Regions from separate parts of the Homo sapiens genome. Here region 1 is linked to region 2. The links are contacts of gene promoters, found by promoter capture Hi-C in blood cells and fetal thymus (Javierre and others, 2016). All regions are on one chromosome and are shown on one strand. Each heading gives the region's core, a stretch centred on a gene start or on the middle of the fragment in contact. The rest is flanking DNA. Distances are from core to core; before and after follow the strand shown.

Region 1 (6,721 bases), core at 1,598-4,097, 75 kb before region 2:
AAAATGGAGGGAGACTGTTAGAGAAAGGCCGGGCCCACTCCCAAGCCCCAGCACCAGCAATGTTCAGCCTCACCACGTGGTGTCCCCCGAGCTGGTCACAATATTGTTGTCATCCAGGAAGCGGCAGCAGGAGAGATAACCTGGAGGCGGTTAGAAGGACAGTGCCCTGGCTGCAGAGCCACAGCCCACTGGAAGCCCAGGGTTCCCTGAACCCCTCAGGAGGGGAGGAGAGGGTCTCTCCCTCACCTGTGTGAGCAGAAAGCTCCCGGCTGACCTTGACATTGCCCTCACGGGATTTGAGGTTGTAGATGGAACACATGTTGTCCAGCCCCCCACATGCCACAAAGTTCCCTGATGGGGCATAGGCACAGGTCATGACCCAGGAGGAGCGCAGTGGGATGGCGTGCACCTGCAGGGAGGGTGGTTTGAGCAGAGATGGGACCGGAGCCAAGCTCCCAGCTGGGCACAGGAGGGTAGGCATGGCGCCCTTAGGAAGGATGCAGTGGTGGAGGCTCAGGGAGGCAGGGCTGGTACCTTGTTGGTGGTGTAGCTGTCCCACACGATCAGCTTCCCATCTTGCGAGGCACTTACCAGCAGCCTGGGGAGAGGGCATCCCATATCATGCAAGCCTCCCCTTCCCGCCTTCCTCACTCCCGCTCTCACCCTCCCATTCTCGGTTCCCCCCCAAGCCTCACTTAGAATCAGTGGCCCAGTGCATGGCGTAAATCTTGGCCAGGTGTCCCCTTAACGTCCGCCGCGTCCGCATCTGGACTCGTCCCACCACCTCTAGGCCAGACACCAGCTGCAGAGAGAGGGGCACTGAATATCAGGGTGAGCAGGTTACGTGCCCAGATGTCTGTCACTGCCACTGATCTATACAAGTTCCCGCTCTGTGCCAGGCTCTAGGTCAGGCCCCCAGCCTTAGAGAAATAAGTCTCTGCCCTGGAGTGTCTTAGACTGATGTGGGAAAGAGATGCATGCATGGCCAGAGGTGTGTTGCTTGTAAGTGTTTAACAAGCACCTCTCCAGTGTTGGTGAGGAAGGTGGGAAGGTGATTTCCACGATACGAATACTTGCACTTTGACCAGTTTCCAGCTGCCAATGTGAGGTCATTGGAAACAGATTTGGGAAGAGATGCACAGAGCTGGCTCTCCCAAGCCGAGAGGAGCCTGCTTGCACCCACCGCTGCAGCACGGCTAGCTTTTTAACTGGGTGCCTGGGGCATCACCATGACCCTGAACTGTACCTCCTGAAATCTGTGGTACTATGCCCCTTGAGCTCTAACCACATTTTAGACTTAGGCTGGGGGTCCAGAGTGAACAGACTTGATTTGCCATCACTTGCATTGCTATCTTTTTTTAAAAAGTTAAAAGCAATTTTTTTTATATTAAGAAGAGATCTCACTATGTTGCCCAGGCTGGTCTCAAACTCCTGAGCTCAAGTGATCCTTTCACGTCAGTCTCCCAAAGGGCTGGGATTACAGGCGTGAACCACTGCGCCCGGCCTGCTTTGTTATCTTGGGCAAGTTGCTTCACCTCCCTGAGTCTGTTTACTCAAGGTGTAAAATGAGGCTTATCATAGCACCTACCTTACAGAGATATCATGAAAATTCAATGAAATCAGGTATTTATGCAGCTTAGCCCAGTATCTGGCTCATAAAAAGTGTTCACTATTAACATATTTAATCCAATCTAAGATGCATCACTAAGAAAGAAAAGATGCTGTCAATTCTAATTGAAACAATGATCCATTGCTGAATGCACCTTGATTTCAGAGATGTCAAAATGTGAAGAAATGTGCATCTTAGAATTGACAAAATACAGCATAGAAAACTAGCAGCTAGAGTCTACAAGGGCTTTATAATTTACAAAGTACTATCGCTTCTTCATCTTCAAGGCCCTGGGAGGGGGCTGTGGTCACTCTTGTTCTACGGATGAGAATAGGAACCGTGTCCGCATCTTTCGCATCCAATATGGTGCCTGGCTCAGAGCAGGTCCCGCTAAAATGTTGGTCGAATGAATTAATTAATGGGTTTCCTCACTCCAAGGACGTGCTGTACTAATGCTCGGAGCAACGCGCTATTGCGGGTCGGGGAGCTCCCTTCCCCTCCCCCCATGCCCTGCCTTCCGGGGGACAGGGGGTCTTACCTCTGCCAGAGTAACGTCAGCACAGGCTTTCCTGGCATCCTGCAGGGAAAGCAGACATCAGGGGAGCAAGGGCGAGGTGGGGGTGGCAGGTGCATGGGCCTTCAGGGCAGGTTGGTCTTGGGGCTCTGGGGCTTGGGGGTCTCAAATATGCGAACCAAGTTTAGAAAGTCCCTGGTCACTTCTAGTCACTCAAGAGCAAACCCAGCCCCCTCCCCCTGGGCCACGCTCCTCATGTCCCCAGCTGTTTTCTGGGGCCCCAGGGGTAGGGCTCTGGAGTTACTGCAATCTGCTTCTTGAGCTGCTCCGCTTCCTGACGCAGTTGCTCCATCTCCCCCATGGCTGACAGGTCGAGGGGTCACTCTGGCTCCTGCCAGGAACATGGGGTCGGTGTTGAGGAACCCCCCACCAGGCTGTGCTTCTGCCCTTCGTGCCCACACCAGACTCCAAGACACAGGGAAACGACTGGGTGGCTGCACCCTCTCCCCAGCTAGGCCCTCCAAGTTTGAGGTCCTTTGCGTCCAGCCCCAGCCTGCCTGAGCCCTGCCTGCGCCCCAGCCCAGGAGAGCAGAGCCCAGGCCAGCTCCCTCTTACTTGGGCTCTGGCTGGACCTCGGCCGGGTTTCCAGCTCCGGTTCCTGGGAGCCTCCTTACTCCCTCAGCTGCGACGCCCGCGCCCGCCCGTCACCTGCCCAGGCTCTGCTGCCAGAGGAGCTGGCCTGGCCTGGCCTGGCCCCGACCGGCGGGGGGTTGGGGGGGCCTGACAGGGAAGGGTAGAGCCAACCACAACGTCAGGCAAATGAAATCAGCTGGCAGGGGTGGGGGGAAGGGGTGGGGGGAGGGAGGGAGGTGTACGGATTCCAGAGAGACTTGGGCCCAGCCGGGAGGAGGGTTGGGGGCAGGAGTGTGGGGCCATAGAGAGGGGCAGCCCCCACCACAAGCCCTGAGAGAGGAGGGGGTGAAGGGGTGCTTCCCTGGTCAGTCTCTGCAGGCAGAGATAAGAGCATCAGGCCCCACAGGATTAGAGCAAAGCTGTGAGGATTAAGGGTTGGGGTTTGGGAGGGGTGCAAAGGAGCAGACAACTACAGCTCCAGTGGCCCCCCTGGTCCCGGCCCCCATCCATGGTGATGATCTTGGCAGTCAGGGCCACTTAGCAACCAGGCCAGGAGGTGGGATATAAGGGTGATAGATGGCCCCATTGTCAGTACCTCAAACTGTGCTCCTCAGCTCAGGGTGGTGGGGAAGAGGGTTTGGTGAGTATGGGAGGGTACAGGCAGGAGCTGAGATTAGAAAGGACTGATCTGGATAATCCTTCTTCTCGACAAACCCCAACCAGCTGCCTCTGGGTCTGATCCTGTTGGGGGAGAAAGGTACAGGGGACCCACAGAGAAGGATGGACAGGTCTGCCCCTATTGTGGGCGGGCAACGGATTTCAAGTGGAGGGAAGGCCCGCACGCTGCTCCCAGGCTGGGGTCTGGCCCCCTCCTTGCCCTCTCGAGGCTGTGAAAGCAGGGGTCAGAGAGAAAGCAGGCGGCCCTAAGTCTCAGCAAAGCTCAGAGAGGGAAGACAGGGCTTACACTTGGAGGCCTAAGGAGCAGCTGCCAGGGGCTTGGGTCATTTGCATGAGGGGAGCAGGTGGCTGAGATTTCCCTGACAAATCACAGGCTCCAGGCGCCCCGCCTCTGGGAGGCCCAAAGACACCTGTCTCCTCCCAGGCCAGCCAGAGCCACCCCCACCTCCAGCCATCACAGAATCTGTGATACACTTGACTGGCCCCTGGCTGAGAGATCTTCACGACCTTTATTGCACAGACTGGGAGAGAGGAGCAGGGTTATACCTCCCAACCCCACCATCCTCTTCATTTAAAGCATCAGCCTCCTCCCCTGCCATTTCTGTTCAGGGAGGCACAGTGTTCCCCATCTGTCCAGGGCTGCAGGTCCGGCAGCGGGGCCCCGTCCCAGCTCCCCAGGCCTGGTGAGCTCCAGGCTAGCCTGTGCACTGTCCTCTGAGTCCAGGCCCTTGTAGGTCCCCAAGATGGTGGGGGTGCAGGGACAGAGAGCTTGCTGTTCTGCTCCTGATGTCACACAGGGGCTTCCTGTGTGTCCTGGCATCAAGATGGCCTTCCACAAGTCAAGTGGCCACATCCTCAAGGAGCTGGCTCAGCCACTCACAGCTCCTCCCGAACCCGAGGTGCCCTTCCAGTCTTGTCTTGGACCCTCTGGTGCCTGCGGCTAGGGGGCTCTGGGGAAGGGTCTTTGCTGGGCATTTCTTCCTCTTCCTCTTCCTCCTCCTCCTGTGACTCCTGCAGCAGTTCTTTGGCTTCTATCCACTCCTGGGGTTGGGGAGGAGAGTGTGGCCCATTCCCTGCACCCACCTTCCCTGGGTCAGCTCAGCCCCTGACCCTCACCGACTGTGAGCCTTCTCGGGGGCTCCTTGCCCACCCTTCACGCACCAGGAGAACCACATCCCTTCCTACCCCGCTCCTTACCTGCTCCCTGTGCTCAGGTGCCCACGTGTGCCACAGTGCCAGGGCACAGCGCCGTCCCCGAGTCACGGCCCACACCCCATGGGGATTCTCGACACCGGAGCTGAAGGCCACAAGGCGCCCACAGCGAGGACGCACCCGAGCCTGGAGGGATGAGGGCAGGTTCAGCTCCAGGGATTGGCTCTCTCAGAGAACTTGGCCCTCACTCCCTAGAGCAGGATGGGGACAGGGGCACAGAGAGGATCAGCTCTCTCGCTACCACTTCCTACTCCTTAATTCAGGGACTAGCTTGGGGCAAATGAGAAATCAGCTTCAACTTGCAGAGCAAAAATGCAAGAGGAGTTGGGAACCAAAGGAAAAAGGGGTCTCCACGGATGGTCTCCTGTTGGTTCCTGACCCCTGGTACCCTGATTTTTCCCACTCAGCCCTTTGAATCCAGGGCTTGAAGCAATCTGGGGCTGTGCATGCAGTACCAGACTCTATGCAGAAGGGGATACAGATATTGGAACCATTTTCACACCCCACACCCAGATGAACAATCACTGCCCCTCTCCTCCTACCCAATCCTAGCCCCTGGTGTCCGGAAATTTCCCACCTAACATTCATTAATTGCTTATCATTACCAGGCGCTGCCTCATTCTTTTAGGTACATTACCTAAATTACTTCCTACAATGACCCTTTAAAATACGTACTATTATTATCACCCCAGTCTAGGAAACTAAACCTCAGAAAGGTTCAGAATCCGAGCCCCAGTCAAGGCGGCCCTGGTATCTGTGCGCCAGCCACTGTGCTCACCTCGCTGCAAAGAGGAAGGACTATTTCAAGTTCCCCAAATCCCTAGAATAGGGCCATGGAGTCCTGGAGGCACCTGCAAGCTGTGCTTCATTCACCCTTCTTTAGGAGGCGAGACAAATACTGATGGTAGGGTTGATTCGGCCACTTAGAGACCTTGCTACGGAGGAAGCAGCGGGAGGGCTGCGGAGGCGGGGAAGTGAAAGGGTTAAAAGCCCTGGCCATTTCCCTGCATTTGCCTCTGGAGCCTTCTGTTTTGAATCCTGACCCCACAGCTGGGCCCTTTGTCACACCGTCACACCCCCCACTCCACGCACCGTGACAGTGAGGGCGTTGGGCTCCGTGAAGAACAGGTCCCCACCCTGGAAGTCATCGTTGAGGTAGAGGAGTCCGCTGGGGAGGGAAAAAAGCAAGAGGCAGTGAGACCCCAACCCAGGCCCAGGCCGGCAGTGGGATGACCTTTGTCTGCCCACCTGCCTGACCACTAGAGGGGCTGCCCACCTGTAGTCCCGATAGGTGTAGGCTGGGGGCTCCCGCCAGCACTCTCCCGTGTCAGGGTCCAGGACGCAGTTGTCTGCGTGCACTGGGTGACTCAGGTCCATGCGCTGCTCTTGCTCTCCTAGGACACAAAGGGGTCTGGGGGTACCTCTGTGCCCCTGTGCCCATCTGCCACCCTGTGGGCTCAGGCCGTGCACGTCCACCCCGGGGCTCTTGGGGGCAGTGTCCTGGGGGCAGGGCCTGAGGTTGGAGAAGAGCAGTGGGGGGTCCCTGTCGTACCTTCTATGGCGCTGCGGCACACCAGGTGGGTGAAGGACAGATGCAGGGGCCGTTCCGGGGAGAAGTAGGCCTGGGTCAAGGTCCGCACCCGCTCGCTCACCTCCAGAAGCAGCTTAGCACCCTGACTGCCCACTGTCCCAGCCCGGGCCAGCTGCAGGCAGTGAAAGGCAGGGCAGAAAAGGAGGAAGGCAAGGGGAGGGTGGTCTCGGCCCTAGCCCCTGCCCAACTCTGCCGCTCTCCACCCATGGGTTTGGAGTCTGTCAGCATCCAGCTCTGTCCATCAGCCCAAACTGCTCCTTCTCTCTCCATGACAACAACCCCGGCCCCAGCTCTCAGAACATCCCTTTTCTCCACGCTGGGTCCTATCAGGTAGTCTCGGTCCCAAGAAAGCTCCTTCACAAAAGCCCAGGCCCTGGGGCCCGGCTTCCTGCACAGCCTCTCCTCCAGGTCTGGGCATCAGACGGGCCCGGGTGCCTCCTGTGCTCACCTGCGCAGCCTTAAGCACCGTGAGCCCCTCGAAGCG
Region 2 (6,524 bases), core at 4,025-6,524:
GCCATGCGGAGATGGAGAAATGCAGAAATCTTAGAAATCTCCTAACAGAGATCAAACTCAGGGGAAACAGAGGCAGTGGGACTAGGGAAGGCCCAAGACTGACAAGAGTCATACAACTCCCGCTCCCCAGCCCAGCCCAGGGAGAGTTGGAGGGCAGGTGACGAAACATACAGCCGACCTGGGGATGACACGAGACCCAGGATTTCCCTGCTTGACTGGAAGGAGCTCGCTTCCATGCCAGGCAGAGGGCATCTCTGATGCCAGGCAGCTCACTCCAGATCCTAGCAGGCTGAGACCCAGGACTACCAGCCCTCTCCCAGCTCAGGGGAAGGACTTCCTGTTTCTGGGCTGTTTCTCTGTGCCTGGTTCAGCACAATAGAGCTGGTAGCTTTCCACTGGGCTCAGCAGTGTCTAGGTCTTGTGTGGGTTAGCAGGGAAGTGTGTATTGCTGGGGAGGAGCATCCCTGAGAATCCAAAACAGGACATAAGTCAGCTCTCAGAAGAGCTGGGCTCCAGGCCACCCCTGGAGGGCTGATCTTGTCTTCTTGAGTCGTGGGTGGTAGGAGTGTGCTGCTGCTTTTGTATCAAAGGGAAGGGTCCTGGCAGAATGGGAGGTCAGCCACCCTCCTCCCTCTCTACCCTTTTGTCGCACTGACTGGAGCCCCCGGGAAAGCAGGAGACAGGTTAAAAACAGAAGCGCGACCATTTCTTTATTAAATTATACAAAAAGGGAGGGGAGGGGGGCAGCTGTGGGGCTCGGCCCCAACCCCGGCCCCACCCCGGCCTGGCGCTGTCTGAGAAGAGGGGATCTGAGGGAGATCCAGGGATCAGGCAGGATAGGGATGGGGCAGGACATGAGGCTGGGGGATGCAGAGGTTAGGTGGGAGAGGCTACCGGAGGAAGAATGAGGCTGGTAGGGGAGGGAGAAAGAGAGCAAAGAGAGAGAGGAGCAATTGGGGGCCAGCTGGAGAGCTCAGATGGAGCAGGTCAGGAGGTGGAACAATGGCAGAGTGAGGGTGGAGGGCGCAGTGTCTGGAGAGGCGGAAATGAGAAGGCTGGGGAGAAAGAAGAGGGTGGCAGCTCTGGTGCAGGGCCCAGAGCAGGGAGCCAGGTGAAGAGTGGCTGGACTTGGCTGCCCCCACCCCCACCTCCAGGCCCAGAGAGGCCTCCCAACCCCAGCCTGTTGGCAGGGGCTCACGCCGATGCCCCATTTTCTGTCTTCTGCCGTTTGGGATCCGCTTCATCCTGTGGAGAGGGAGAGAATGGGGGAGCTGTAAAATGGGAGGGGAGACCTCCCCCTGTCCCGGTCCTGTTCCAGCCCCCACCCCTGCCACACAGGGATCTGGGTCCAAATCCAAAGGGCGCCCAGCCCGGCTGCATCCCTGACAGCCCCTCAGGCCCAGCAACCCAGCCCAAACCTCCTCTTCGGCAGCTCTCTTCAGCGCGGGCCCTTCATCATCCTCTTCTTCTTCTTCCTCATCTGAGGAGCCAGAAATGGGTCATTGGGGAAGGGCAGGAAGCTCTGGCAGAGCCCCCGTGGTCGCCCTCAGCCCTGCTTCAGGTCTTCAAACCCACCCTGACTCTGCTCTCCTTTGAGCCCAGACTTTGCCAGCCCAGCCTCCCCTGCCCCTCCCCACCTTCTTCTTCCCCTTCATCTTCCTCCTCTCCATCCTCGGCAGTTTCTTCTTCTTCCTCCTCAGCCCCGTTCTCCTCCTCCTGTGGGGACCAGGAGAGGGAGTAGCCTCAGGCTGGCTGCATGCCTTGCCCACCATCACCACCAATGGGACTGGAGCCTGGGTGATAAAAGGGCTTGGGATGGGCCACAGGGTGGGGCAGCAAGGGTGACAGGGCTCAGGGGAACGGCAGGACCCAGCACCCTCGGAAGGAAAGCAGAGGAAGGATGAGATGATTGGGAGGGAAGATGGTAGGGCAGATGTGGTCCTCTCCCCCACCCCTCCACACCTCCACCACTTCTTTCTTTCGCTCTTTCCGGCTTGCCTTCTCCTCCACCTTCTCCTTCTTCTCCTTCAGGTCCTGCAAAGGAGAAAGAGGTCACCTTTCTCACCACAAATGGCTTGCAGCCCCTAAGTCCCTGCAGCCCCAGTTCTCCCTCTGTAGTGAGCTTAGAGGTGTGTGAACTGAATAAGGTGGCCACAGCTTAGAGACAGAATAGGGGCCCTAGGGTCCTTACATTAGGGCCATGAAGGGGTTGAGACCAAACACCTCCTTCCCCAAGACCCAAGGTGAGGTGGGAAAGGGATGAAGAAGCAGGAGCGGGCAACCAGGGTAATGATCCCCACCCCCATCAAGTTCTCCCAAACCTCACTGGCTGAAGAGTTCAGCTCAGCAAAGCAAATCCTCTCCATCTGCTTGCAGCCTCAGTGCCCCGCCCCCTCCTGTGTCCCTCCGCCTCCCTTGCCTGCCCCGCCACTGCCCGCCCAGCTCTGCCTTTTGTCTACCTCTGGGGCCTTTTCCTGAGGACTCTCTCTCCTGGGCATCCCTCCCAGCTTCCCCTTCAGCTTCTAAGGTCTTTGTTTCTCTCCATCTGTGTCTCCCTAATCCTCAGGCCCCTACTTGGCCAAACACTACACCTTAGCACATTCCCAGCACCCCTCCCACTTTCTGCCCTCCCCGCCCCAAAACAGTTCAAGTAGTTTCCTCTATCCCTGCCTCCCATGGTGTATGCATGGGTGTAGTGGAAGTAGCCATTTACGGTGGAAATGTAGGTGAAGTAGAAGAGAAAACAAGGAGGGGAAGAGTAGCAGGCGTGGGAAACAAGGAGAGAGCAACAAACAAGGTCTGTGACTGGGGTGGGATAGGAATGGAGAAGAGGGAGGGACCAGTCTAGGAGACCCTCCCACCAGCCAGCCCCTCTCCTTCACCCCAAGATCCTAGCAGGCATAGGTTGACGTCCTGTGCTGATATGGCACATCTGAGTCCCTTCTGGACACTACACTAGCCTCCCAATTCAGATTCCAGTGCTCTCCCCACCCACTCCTTGGCAGGCACAGTGTAACACGGTAGGTGTCCTTGTGTGATCTGATCTGGTGTTGGTGTGCCACGCTGTGTATCTGATTCCATGTGAATGGAAGTCTCCTGTGTGAGATCACCCTGGGCGGGGGGGTCCTTTCTGGAACAGGATAGGGGATAGGAGAGGAGCCTGGTGCAGAACGGCTGCCCTGGGGGGCACTCAATTCCCTTCTCCCTTTAAGGGTAGCTCAGAACTCTTCACTCTCACTCCAGAGAGGGTGCCCTTCCACCCCACCGTGAGGTCTTCATTTCTGTGCCACAAGGTCAGTATGGCATTTCCACTACCTAGGGGGCTCTTCCCTACGTCCTGGGCCAGGAGAGCAAAGAGCTGGTCAGCTTCTCTCTGGGGGCCCCAGCACCAAAAGTCTGTATGGCCCTGGCCTGACTTTCCCATCTGGGCTGATGCAGGGAGGGAGAATACCAGAGACCAAAGTTCAAGGGGCCGGGCCCTCTCCTCCCCTGTTCTGTCCTTCTGGTCACTGTCCTTCCATGATCCCTTTTCCAGGAGAATATGTGACCTGGGCCCTAGGTCTTCTGCTAAGCAGCCCTCTGGCCTCATTTACTCAACACAGGCACACACACCGACACCGGCCGACAGCCATGCACAGACACAGTTAGAGAGGAGCACCCACGCGATGGGAGACACATGGCCCAGCGTTGGGCCATTCTGGTCCACACTCTTGAGACAGCACGGGAGCACAGCGGAGCCACTCAGCACTCACAAAGCGACAACATGGCTCCAGAACATCTACGTCTCCACATGCACACATGTAACTGACACGGGCAGTCCCACACACTCGCTGGATTTCAGACATACAAAGACACCTACTCAGTGAAGTCACATGCCACCGCACAGCCCGCCGGAGGGCCACACGGGCGCACCTTGGCAGATCGCACACAGCCCCTCTCCCACCGCCGTTAATCCCATTGGCTCCCCCCGTTTCACTCCGCGGGCCTCCGGGAGACCTGTGTGACGGCCCCTCAGCAACCACCGCGCCCCCCCCCCCCGCCATACACATACACACACAAGATAGGGCTCCCAGCCCCCAAACCCCGGCCGCGTTAATTTCCCAAAGCGACACTCCGCAGGTTCCCTGGGGAAATTAGAGGAAGGCTGGAAGAGAGGCAAGGGCGAACGGATGGGGCCGGGGAAGGGAGCTGATGAGGGCGAGGACAGCTCGACGCAATGCCATGCAATGCCCAGCCTCGGCTTTTTCGAAGGCTAGTCCTGCCCCGCTTCTAATTTTTAGGAATTCGAGATTCTTTCAGTGTGTATGCGGGAAGGGGACGATGAAGAGAAAAGAAAGCTGAAAGCCAGCTGAGGGGAGGGAACGAGAAAACAGAGGCGGCCGCCGTCCGGGGAGAGAAGCGAGCGACGGTCGGGCCGCGGGGAGGGGCCCGGAGGAGCAGCCTCCAGGGAGAGTCCTGTTTACACTTGAGGATCTCAAACCGCTTAGCGAGGAAAGGTGAGGTCAGGTTGCAAGCAAAGACGCGGCAGCGGGGCGCAGGGAGGGGGCGCGGCAAAGTGAGACTCGGGGCGTTCGGACGGGAAGCCGGACGGGATCCGGTCAGCGAGGTGGGGCCGAAGAGGGGTGGGGACGGCTGCGGGGGACGGCGCGACCGGAGCGGCGAGGCCGGGCGCCGTGGTGCGCGCAGGGCAGCTAGAGGGCGCTGGCGCTAGCCGCGCGGAGCCGGGAAAGGAGCTCCGGGCCGGGGAGCGGTGGGAGGGCGCAGTGGGGTCCGCCAGGACCCGGGCGCAAGGGCCGCGCGGGGCCGTCGGGGGCGGCCTGGGGCGAAGGACCGCGCCGGGCCCCAGGGCTGCGCGAGGTCCGGGCCGCCGCCGCCCCCGCCCGTACCTTGGCGCTCAACTCGGCCGCTGCCTCCACGCTTTTCTCCGACATGGTGCCGGGGCCGGGGCCGGGGCTGGCGGGGAGCCGGGGTCCCGGGGCCGAGACGGAGGGGCCCTGGACGGCGGAGGGTGGCCGCGGCCGGAACCTGGCGCGGTGGCGGCGGCGGCGGCGACAGCGGCAGCGGCGGCCGCTCGGCAAGCTGGGTCTCTGGAAGAGGCGGCAGAGGCGCGCGGGGTGGGGCGGGGGTGGGTCTGGAGCGGAGACCCGCAGGGCTGCGGCCGTCCGGAGGGCGGGCGGAAGGGCGGTGCAGGCGGTGGCCGGCGCGCTCGGCCGCGGTAGCTCGATCCCGGGCTCGCCGCCCCCGCACCAGCAGAGCTGCCGCCGACCAGCCGCTGCCGCCCCCGGGAAGGGAACCCGCTTATAAGGCGGCGCTGCCCGACGGGAGGGGCTTCCCAGGGGTGGGGCAGGCGGGAGCGGGGAGGAGAGGAGAGGGGAGGGGGATGAAAGAGGAGGTTGGAGAGGTGGGGATAGGAGGATGAAAGCGAGGGGAGGGAGAGCTAGGGAGTCGGGAGGGAGGACGAGACCAGGAGGGGGAAATGGAGAGACTGACGGCCGCGGAGAAAGAGTGGGGCGAGGAGGTGGGAAGGGGTGGGGTTCCTGCGGGGAGGCACCTTTCCAAATCCCAACCTACTGCCTGCGAATGTGGAGTCTGGCTTTTGGGGGCGGACTGGAGAGGTGGCCAGAATCCTACTGACCCCAAAAAAAGCCCTGGGATTTTGCCAAGGGGTGGGGTGAGGGGAGCAGATGGGAAGATAGGGCAGGTATTTGAGAAACCAAAAGCTTAAAGAAGAGGAAGAGGGTTCGGGCGCTCCTTCCACACCACGCCGGATTTCCCCCTCTCATCCTCCATCCACATTCTCTGGATGGCCTTGAGGAGGGATGGGAGGGCAGAAAGGGCGGCCCAGCCTTCTGTCCCGCCAGATTGACACTTGTGACCCTTGCCGGGTGCCTCCCTTCCTGGCCCCGTGCTGTGAGCCGGGGGGAGTCAGGCCCCCTGGTCTCCTTTGCTGTCTTCCAGCTCTCTTCCATCTTCTACCTCTCTTATTCGCCCGTCTCACCTCACTTTTATTCGCCTGGTCCTTCTATTTCTCTTCATCCGTCCTCAGTCATCTGTACCTAGACCCCTCCTTCACAACCAATTATAACTCGAATCGCTCCCATTCTTCTCTCACCTCTTCTCCACTCCTCACTGACTCTCTTCTGCCCTTCCACCTCTGGTCTCTTTCCCTATCTTTCCCAGACAACCCTGCTCTTGTCTTATCTGAGTCAGGCACCTGGCCCTCTATTCTTGGCTGGCTTTCCTCAACTCCTCTTTCTGTCCTCATTTTTTACATTTTCCATCCTTCAGCTTTTCTCATTCCTCTGCTGCCATCTTCCCTAGCCTTTCTGGGTTATATTTGCCTCCTTTGCAAATATAATACAGGTCCAGGTCTGGAGTTCCAGCCCCACCCTATTCCACACATCCTCAGCTCCTCGCCCTCAATCTCGGTATCTTTGAGTCATTTTGAAAAGCTTGGGATTTCAGAAGGGAACAGGGGCTGGGTTGTGTATTAAAGGTCAGGAAGGTGGACAGAGTGGAAGGCT

Evidence for each region. The method cuts DNA at HindIII sites, captures the fragments that hold promoters and counts their contacts. A CHiCAGO score of 5 or more calls a contact.
Region 1: the fragment with the promoter of GNB3 here is called in contact with the fragment with the promoter of PTMS in region 2 in 7 of 17 cell types (naive CD4 T cells, activated CD4 T cells, total CD4 T cells and 4 more); the score reaches 10.5 in naive CD4 T cells.

Annotation. Positions count from the first base shown.
Region 1 is chr12:6,837,051-6,843,771 of GRCh38, reverse strand. GNB3 (G protein subunit beta 3) reads right to left here and starts at 2,847. Exons shown (of 10, transcript NM_002075.4): 1 at 2,739-2,847; 2 at 2,428-2,514; 3 at 2,148-2,186; 4 at 696-802; 5 at 535-598; 6 at 247-409; 7 at 74-140. The coding sequence starts at 2,484. P3H3 (prolyl 3-hydroxylase 3) reads right to left here. Exons shown (of 15, transcript NM_014262.5): 10 at 6,686-6,721; 11 at 6,199-6,349; 12 at 5,923-6,040; 13 at 5,739-5,814; 14 at 4,632-4,772; 15 at 3,925-4,475. The coding sequence ends at 4,311. The HindIII fragment of the contact is 12,557 bases long and covers 1-6,721 here.
Region 2 is chr12:6,765,113-6,771,636 of GRCh38, reverse strand. It overlaps PTMS (parathymosin), which reads right to left and starts at 5,274. Exons shown (of 5, transcript NM_002824.6): 1 at 4,887-5,274; 2 at 1,963-2,034; 3 at 1,638-1,716; 4 at 1,419-1,480; 5 at 685-1,245. The coding sequence starts at 4,931. The coding sequence ends at 1,195. RefSeq lists silencers at 4,470-4,969, 5,080-5,409. The HindIII fragment of the contact is 8,838 bases long and covers 1-5,722 here.